2 separate regions of the Homo sapiens genome follow, and region 2 is linked to region 1. Evidence: promoter capture Hi-C in human tissues and cell types (Jung and others, 2019). All regions are on one chromosome and are shown on one strand. The core of a region is centred on a gene start or on the middle of the fragment in contact, and the rest is flanking DNA. Distances in the headings are between cores, read along the strand shown.

Evidence for each region. The method cuts DNA at HindIII sites, captures the fragments that hold promoters and counts their contacts. A contact is called where the count stands out against the background at its distance.
Region 2: a contact is called between a fragment that was not itself captured here and the fragment with the promoter of HCAR2 in region 1, in 10 of the 25 tissues and cell types used here (H1 embryonic stem cells, IMR-90 fibroblasts, adrenal gland and 7 more).

Annotation. Positions count from the first base shown.
Region 1 is chr12:122,700,640-122,705,284 of GRCh38, reverse strand. HCAR2 (hydroxycarboxylic acid receptor 2) reads left to right here and starts at 1,928. Exons shown (of 1, transcript NM_177551.4): 1 at 1,928-3,992. The coding sequence starts at 2,002. The coding sequence ends at 3,093. The HindIII fragment of the contact is 9,565 bases long and covers 1-3,461 here.
Region 2 is chr12:122,660,077-122,664,643 of GRCh38, reverse strand. No RefSeq gene overlaps it. Among named protein-coding and RNA genes, the nearest start is that of MIR9902-1, 34 kb to the left of the region's middle. The HindIII fragment of the contact is 5,920 bases long and covers 1-4,265 here.

The sequences.
Region 1 (4,645 bases), core at 679-3,178:
AATCCATCTCTACTAAAAATACAAAAATTAGCCAGGCATGGTGGCTTGCACCTGTAGTCTCAGCTACTTGGGAGGCTGAGGCAGGAGAATGGCATGAACCCGGGAGGCAGAGGTTGCAGTGAGCCAAGATCATGCCACTGCACTCCAGCCTGGGCGACAGAGCGAAACTCCATCTCAAAAGAAAAAACAGAAAAAAAAAAAAAAAGGAAGAAATTTACATTTTATAACTCAAAGTAGAAGGAACACAATTTAGAAACCTCCTGCATGGAAGAATTCATAAGACCAAAATATTAAAGGGAGAAAACATTCTATAGGATGACACCCAATCGCACTGACAAGCAGAGAAACAATGTGTGCAATGGTGTCCCGCTACAAGGCGGGGTTCCATGTCCTCTTAGGTCCTGTCACTCTAAGTTTAATTTTACAAAAATGGGGGCTTTGAAAATATCACATACTTAGTGGGGGAGGTTTTGCGTGTGTGGAGACAGAGTGCACAGGACCGTCCGTACTTTCTGCTCCATTTTGCTGTGAATCTAACACTGCCCCAAAAAATAAAGTTCATTAAAAAAAATCACGGCCAGGCGCGGTGGCTCACGCCTGTAATCCCAGCACTTTGGGAGGCCGAGGCAGACGGATCACAAGGTCAGGAGTTTGAGACCAGCCTGGCCAACACAGTGAAACCTCGTCTTTACTAAAAATACAAAAAATTAGCTGGGCGTGGTGGCGCACGCCTGTAGTCCCAGATACTCAGGAGGCTGAGGCAGAAGAATTGCTTGAACCTGGGAGGCGGAGGTTGCAGTGAGCTGAGATTGTTCCACCGTTCTCCAGCCTGGGTGACAGAGTGAGACTCTGTCTCAAAAAAAAAAAATCACATCCTAAGGTCCCAAGGACATAAAACAAGTTAGAGACCTCATCCAGTTTTTTGTTTGTTTCAGGGACCTGCAACCAACTTTCTTACTGACCAGTTTCCTGGGCTGTCTAGAACAGACAGCTTATGGGGTACTAACCCCATGCTCTATCCTAAGGTACCCCTCTTCATGCAGAGCGACACAGAAAAACAAATTTGTAGCACAAAGTACACCCGATTTGCTACAGCTTACGACTAGCCTCATGAATCCTTTTTCTCATTAATTCAAAGTTTGCAAAAAAAAGAAATCACATACTTAAAAATAAATCACTTGAGCACAGAAGCATATCAAAATCTAATATAAACAAACAAAAAACCCAACTTATGTTAACATGCCACTGAAACTGGGCTCAAGTTTTCAAATGTCTTATGAAATATTACACTCTCCAGCAGGCTATTTTTTTTTTCCTAACTGGAGATGAATGGCAGAGTTCTGATATGGAAAAGCACTCCATGTTTGTACAGAAAGGTAGCATAGGAAAAGTGGTCAAATTCAACCAGTCTGTCCTCATCAAACAGGCAACTACTGTCTTCTCAGCATTTCCAAAAGAAATCATATGTCTGCTACTGTTTATGTCATATGCCTGTTAATTTTTCATGCTAATTCTTAGTGTTTCTGGAAAACCTCACTGTTTGGCACCAAAAATTGTTATTGCTATTGTTGTTGTTTTGTTAATTATGTCAGCCAAGCAGATGACGGTGAATTAATTCTGCAACGTTGAGTACTCAGTTGGCATACAAGCACCCAGCCTTCCAAAGGGATGTCCTTCATGTTTCACTGATTTTCGAATGACAGTCGGCTTGCCTAAACTTATCCTTTACATTTAAGACATTTTGTGGGTTCCCGTCTGCCCAGGGGATTCTTATTACTTGTTTATGCAAACAGCAGGTTGCATAAGAGCCTTGCTGGCTTTTTTTTTTTTTTTTTTTTTTAGAGATTTCGTAGTTTCCTGGTAACCATTCAGTCATCTATTTCAACACCCTGACATGACATAAAGGCAGGCGTGGAACCACACGTTCACCACACAGACACACACCTCCTTGCTGGAGCATTCACTAGGCGAGGCGCTCCATCGGACTCACTAGCCGCACTCATGAATCGGCACCATCTGCAGGATCACTTTCTGGAAATAGACAAGAAGAACTGCTGTGTGTTCCGAGATGACTTCATTGTCAAGGTGTTGCCGCCGGTGTTGGGGCTGGAGTTTATCTTCGGGCTTCTGGGCAATGGCCTTGCCCTGTGGATTTTCTGTTTCCACCTCAAGTCCTGGAAATCCAGCCGGATTTTCCTGTTCAACCTGGCAGTGGCTGACTTTCTACTGATCATCTGCCTGCCCTTCCTGATGGACAACTATGTGAGGCGTTGGGACTGGAAGTTTGGGGACATCCCTTGCCGGCTGATGCTCTTCATGTTGGCTATGAACCGCCAGGGCAGCATCATCTTCCTCACGGTGGTGGCGGTAGACAGGTATTTCCGGGTGGTCCATCCCCACCACGCCCTGAACAAGATCTCCAATCGGACAGCAGCCATCATCTCTTGCCTTCTGTGGGGCATCACTATTGGCCTGACAGTCCACCTCCTGAAGAAGAAGATGCCGATCCAGAATGGCGGTGCAAATTTGTGCAGCAGCTTCAGCATCTGCCATACCTTCCAGTGGCACGAAGCCATGTTCCTCCTGGAGTTCTTCCTGCCCCTGGGCATCATCCTGTTCTGCTCAGCCAGAATTATCTGGAGCCTGCGGCAGAGACAAATGGACCGGCATGCCAAGATCAAGAGAGCCATCACCTTCATCATGGTGGTGGCCATCGTCTTTGTCATCTGCTTCCTTCCCAGCGTGGTTGTGCGGATCCGCATCTTCTGGCTCCTGCACACTTCGGGCACGCAGAATTGTGAAGTGTACCGCTCGGTGGACCTGGCGTTCTTTATCACTCTCAGCTTCACCTACATGAACAGCATGCTGGACCCCGTGGTGTACTACTTCTCCAGCCCATCCTTTCCCAACTTCTTCTCCACTTTGATCAACCGCTGCCTCCAGAGGAAGATGACAGGTGAGCCAGATAATAACCGCAGCACGAGCGTCGAGCTCACAGGGGACCCCAACAAAACCAGAGGCGCTCCAGAGGCGTTAATGGCCAACTCCGGTGAGCCATGGAGCCCCTCTTATCTGGGCCCAACCTCTCCTTAAATAACCATGCCAAGAAGGGACATTGTCACCAAGAACCAGGATCTCTGGAGAAACAGTTGGGCTGTTGCATCGAGTAATGTCACTGGACTCGGCCTAAGGTTTCCTGGAACTTCCAGATTCAGAGAATGCGATTTAGGGAAACGGTGGCAGATGAGTGGGAGACTGGTTGCAAGGTGTGACCGCAGGAATCCTGGAGGAATAGAGAGTAAAGCTTCTAGGCATCTGAAACTTTTGCTTCATCTCTGACGCTCGCAGGACTGAAGATGGGCAAATTGTAGGCATTTCTGCTGAGCAGAGTTGGAGCCAGAGATCTACTTGTGACTTGTTGGCCTTCTTCCCACATCTGCCTCAGACTGGAGGGGGCTCAGCTCCTGGGGTGATATCTAGCCTGCTTGTGAGCTCTAGCAGGGATAAGGAGAGCTGAGATTGGAGGGAATTGTGTTGCTCCTGGAGGGAGCCCAGGCATCATTAAACAAGCCAGTAGGTCACCTGGCTTCCGTGGACCAATTCATCTTTCAGACAAGCTTTAGCAGAAATGGACTCAGGGAAGAGACTCACACGCTTTGGTTAATATCTGTGTTTCCGGTGGGTGTAATAGGGGATTAGCCCCAGAAGGGACTGAGCTAAACAGTGTTATTATGGGAAAGGAAATGGCATTGCTGCTTTCAACCAGCGACTAATGCAATCCATTCCTCTCTTGTTTATAGTAATCTAAGGGTTGGGCAGTTAAAACGGCTTCAGGATAGAAAGCTGTTTCCCACCTCTGTTTGCTTTTAACATTAAAAGGGAAATGTGCCTCTGCCCCACAGTTAGAGGGGTGCACGTTCCTCCTGGTTCCTTCGCTTGTGTTTCTGTACTTACCAAAAATCTACCATTTCAATAAATTTTGATAGGAGACAGTCTGGCGTTGCTATATCTGGGTTATGGTTCACAGAAATGGACTTCTTACTTAAGCAGAGACCTTTATGGGTTGTTAACTCTGTCCTGGTAGAAAACTACTCCACACTGCAAAGTAAGAAAGAGACACAGACACTGAGCTACATCATGAAACAACTAAGCAGAAATTACACCTGTGTCTAAACAAAGATAGAAAGAGCTGGGATTAAAAATAATTTGGAAGGATAGTACAGATAGGATCGCAAGAGCACTTACATTTTATTAGAGTTTGGTGAATATTGCTCTTAGTATTTGTGCATTAAACAGGGAATCAAGGCCAGGTGCAATGGTTCATGCCTGTAATCCCAGCACTTTGAGGGGACCGAGGTGGGCAGATCACCCTGAGGTCAGGAGTTTGAGACCAGCCTGGACAACATGGCGAAACCCCACTTCTACTAAAAATACAAGAAAAATTAGCCAGGCATGGTGGCGGCCGCTTGTAGTCCCAGCTACTGGGAAGGCTGGGGGAAGAAGAATTGCTTGAACCCAGGAGGCGGAGGTTGCAGTGAGCCGAGGTGGTGTGCCTGCACTCCAGCCTGGGGGACAGAGCAAGACTTCATCTCAAATAATAATAATAAATAATATAAAAAGGGAATCAAGCCAGGCAGATATTTTT
Region 2 (4,567 bases), core at 56-2,555, 40 kb after region 1:
TGAGACCAACTTGGCCAACATAGTGAAACCCCGTTGCTACTAAAAATACAAAAAATTAGCTGGGCACAGTGGCGTGTGCCTGTAATCCTAGCTACTTGCGGGCCTGAGGCACAAGAATTGCTTGAACCCGGGAGGTGGAGGTTGCAGTGAGTCGAGATTACGCCCCTCCACTCTAGCCTGAGTGACAGAGCAAGACTCTATCTCAAAAAAAATGAAAATAAAAAAAAAAGAGTTCGAGACCAGCCTGGCCAACACGTTGAAACCCTGTCTCTACTAAAAATACAAAAATTAAGGCCGGGCCCAGTGGCTCACGCCTGTAATGCCAGCACTTTGGGAAGCCAAGGTGGGCGGATCGCCTGAGGTCAGGAGTTCGAGACCAGCCTGGCCAACATGGTGAAACCCCATCTGTACTAAAAATCAAAAACTTAGCTGGGTATAGTGGCACATGCCTGTAGTCCCAGCTACTTGGGAGGCTGAGGCAGGAGAATCGCTTGAACCCAGGAGGCAGAGGTTGCAGTGAGCCAAGATCACGCCACTGCACTCCAGCCTGGGCGACAGAGCGAGACGCCGTCTCAAAAATAAATAAATGAATAAATAAATATAAATAAATAAATAAAAACGGTAAGGAAGGGATCTTGGCCCTTGAGGTAAATTGCCCCCTTGTCTCTCTCTAATCCAGGGTTTGGGGGAATGGTGTTCACTCACGGCCTGCAAAGCTTTGGGTTTAATTACTGTTTCTTGTCCAACATTTGTCTGATTTTGTGGGTTACTTGGGGCCCTCAGGGATGCAAGAAGCCAAGTGCACACTCAGGTGACCAAGGTGATGGAAGTTATAGAAGCAATCGTGGGCAAGCAAGAATGCTCTGGAAACTGTGGAGCCTCATGAAGAACTGGAACCGGTCTTTAATCAAGTCTCAGATACCATCTCTTAGAAGCTGTGTATCATTATTTCATAAACTATGAAGAAAGAAAAACAGGCCGGGCGCGGTGGCTCACGCCTGTAATCCCAGCACTTTGGGAGGCTGAGGGGGGTGGGTCACCTGTGGTCAGAAGTTTGAGACCAGCCTGGCTAACATGGTGAAACCCCATCTCTACTAAAAATACAAAAATTAGGCGGGCATGGTGGCACGCGCCTGTAATCCCAGCTACTCAGGAAGCTGAGACAGGAGAATTGCTTGAACCCGGGAGGCAGAAGTTGCAGTGAGTCAGGACTGTGCCATTGCACTCCAGCCTGGGTGACAGAGGGAGACAAAGGAAGGAAGGAAGGAAGGAAGGAAGGAAGGAGGGAGGGAGGGAGGGAGGGAGGGAAGGAAGGAGGGAAGGAAGGAGGGAAGGAAGGAAGGAAAGAAGGAAGGAAGGAAGGGAGGAAGGAAGGAGGGAAGGAAGGAGGGAGGGAGGGAGGGAGGGAAGGAAGGAGGGAAGGAAGGAAGGAAAGAAGGAAGGAAGGAAGGGAGGGAGTCCATCAGAAAGAAAGAAAGAGAAAGAATGAGAAAGGAAGAAAAAGAAGAAAGAAAGAAAATGCACACAATTTAACTATAATATACTTCTTTCTTATTGCTTCAAAATTTCATTTGACTCTTTTAGTCTCCAGTGTTTCTTTATTTCCTATATCAGTCTTGTGTATATATGAAAAGAAAGATATTATGGGAAATAGCATGGGGGTTCCTCAAAAAATTATAAATAGTACTACCATATGATCTAGAAAGCTCACTACTGAATGCATATCTGAAGGAAATGAAATCAGTATGTTGAAGAGATACCTGCACACCCATGTCTATTGCAGCATTCTTCATGACATTATCCACAGTCAAGATATAGGAGCTGGCCGGGCGCCGTGGCTCACGTTTGGGAGGCCGAGGTGAGAGGATTGCTTGAGGTCAGGAGTTCAAGACCAGCCTGGTCAACATAGCAAAAACCTCATCTTTACTAAAAATACAAAAATTAGTCAGGCATGGTGGCGGGTACCTGTAATCCCAGCTACTTGGGAGGCTGAGGCAGGAGAATTACTTGAACCCGGGAGGTGGAGGTTGCAGTGAGCCAAAATTGTGACACTGCACTCCAGCCTGGGTGACAGAGAGAGATGCTGTCTCCAAAAAAAAAAAAAAAAAAAAAAAGATATGGAATCAGCCTAGGTGTCAATCAGTGGATAAATGAAGAAAATGTGGTGTATACACAATGAAGTACTATTCAGCGTTTAAAAAGAAGGAAATCCTGTCATTTGCCACAACTTGAATGAACCTGGGTGACTTTATGTTAAGTGAAGTAAGCCAGACGCAGAAAGACAAATACTGCATGATCTCCCTTATATATGAATCTAAAAAAGTTGAACTCATAGAAGCAGAGGGTGGAATGGTGGTTACCGGGAGCTGGAGGTGGGTGGCTGGGTTGGGGAGAGGTTGATCAAAGGGTACAAATGTTCTGTTAGACAGGAGAAATAAATTCAAGAGATCCATTGTACAACATGGTGACTATAGTCAACAATGGCTGGGCACAGAGGCTTTGGAAAGCCAAGGCAGGAGAATCGTTTGAGGCCAGGAGTTCAAGATCAGACTGGGCAACATAGTAAGACCCCATTTCTATAATAAATGAATAAATAGTGTCAACAACAATGGATTGTGTCCTTGAAAATTGTTAAGAGTAGATTTTAGGTGTTCTCGCTACAAAAAAAGTCATGAGAGATAATGCATATGTTAATTAGCTCATTTTAGCCATTCCATAATGTATACATATTTCAAAACACCATGCTGTACACCATAAATATATACAATTTCTATCTCTCAATTAAAAAAATTTTTGTAAGTAAAAAGGCACCTGCAATCTCAGCTACTCAGGAAACCGAGGCAGGAAGATCGCTGAACCCAGGAGTTCGAGACCCTGTCTGTAAATAAGTAAATAAAGTAAAGAGGATGATGTAAGGGAAACCGGTGATTTACTCCTGCAACACCTCCACATTTTCAATCTGGCTTTCTGGTCTCTTTCCAGTGCACGCACTTTGAGGTTTGTGTTTTTCGCCTGCTGTTGTCCTCAGCTCCTGTCCTCTGGACAGGGGGTTCAGAGTCTCTACAAAATCTAATGGCCCTTGGCACAATTCCTATGCCGGCTCACCCATCATGCAGGAGAGCCTCCTCTGACTCCTCCTGTGAGAATGTTGCCAAACGCATCTGACCCTCGGATTCTTAGGAGTGAAAAGGGTCCCGCGGTGTTCCCAAAGCCACCAGCGCCTGCTCTGCCCGTGGGGATCACAACGCTCTAGGAGTTCACCTACCTGCGGGCAGTCCCAGCAACCTCAGGGCTGCCGCCCGACCAAAAGCAGCAAATAAGACATCGTCTGTTGTTAGACACATTCCAAAATGCCAAAATGCGGGGCGGGGGGCGGGGAAAGGTGCATCTTCAGATTGATGAAATGTGGTTGCTGGGCAACCACAGGCATTGGCACCATCCTCGTGGCACTGCTTCGTTGACTGTGCCTCTGACTTCTGACTTGGTTTCCTGCTCACCTCCTGGCTTTTCCTTACCCACAGTATCTACCACCTGTCCTCTTTCTGGCCTCTGCACAACTCCAGTGGCAGTGTCAATTTCTTATATGTTTCAAGTTCAGACTTCCATGAAGAGAAGACCCCACTGGATTGTTGCCACCGTCCAGCAATGCCCGTTCCCTGTGGGTGGGGGATAGGAGTCCAGTAGTCACTAGCCAACTGTAGGGAGTTGAAGGGTGGCTCCCCCAAAAGACATGTCCATATCCTAACCCCAGGAAGCTTACTTGTGAATGTGATTTCACTGGGAAAAAAGGGTCTTTGCCCATGATTACATTTCAGATCTCAAGATGAGGTCATCCTGGATTATCTGGATGGGCCCCAAATCCAATGACAAGTGTCTTTATAAGATACACAGAGGTCTCCAGGCATGGTGGCTCATGCCTGTAATCCCAGCATTTTGAGAAGCCAAGGCAGGAGGATCACCTGAGGTCAGGAGTTCAAGACGAGCTCAGCCAACATGATGATACCCCATCTCTACTAAAAATACAAAAGTTAGCTGGGTGTGGTGGTGGGCGCCTGTAATCCCAGTTACTCAGGAGGCTGAGGCAAGAGAATCGCTTGAACCCGGGAGGTGGAGGTTGCAGTGAGCTGAGATCCCGCCACCGCACTCCAGCCTGGGCAACGGAGCGAGACTCTGTCTCAAAAAAGAAAAGAAATAAAACACACAGAGGAGACACACAGAGAAGGTGATGTGAGGATAAAGGCAGAGATGGGAGTGATGCAGCTACCATCCAAAAACCTGGAGCCACCAGGAGCTGGAAGAGGCAAGAAATGATTCTCTCCTAGAACCTCTAGAGGGAGCGTGGCCCAACTGACCCCTTGTGTTTGGACTTATAAAATTCTGTGGTTTTTTGTTTGTTTTGAGATGGAGTTTCGCTCTGTCGCCCAGGCTGGAGTGCAGTGGCTCAATCTCAGCTCACTGCAATTTCTGCCTCTCGGGTTCAAGTGATTCTCCTGCCTCAGCCTCCCGAATATCTGGGATTACAGGCGCTCACCACCACACGCGGCTAATTTTTCATATTTTTAGTAGA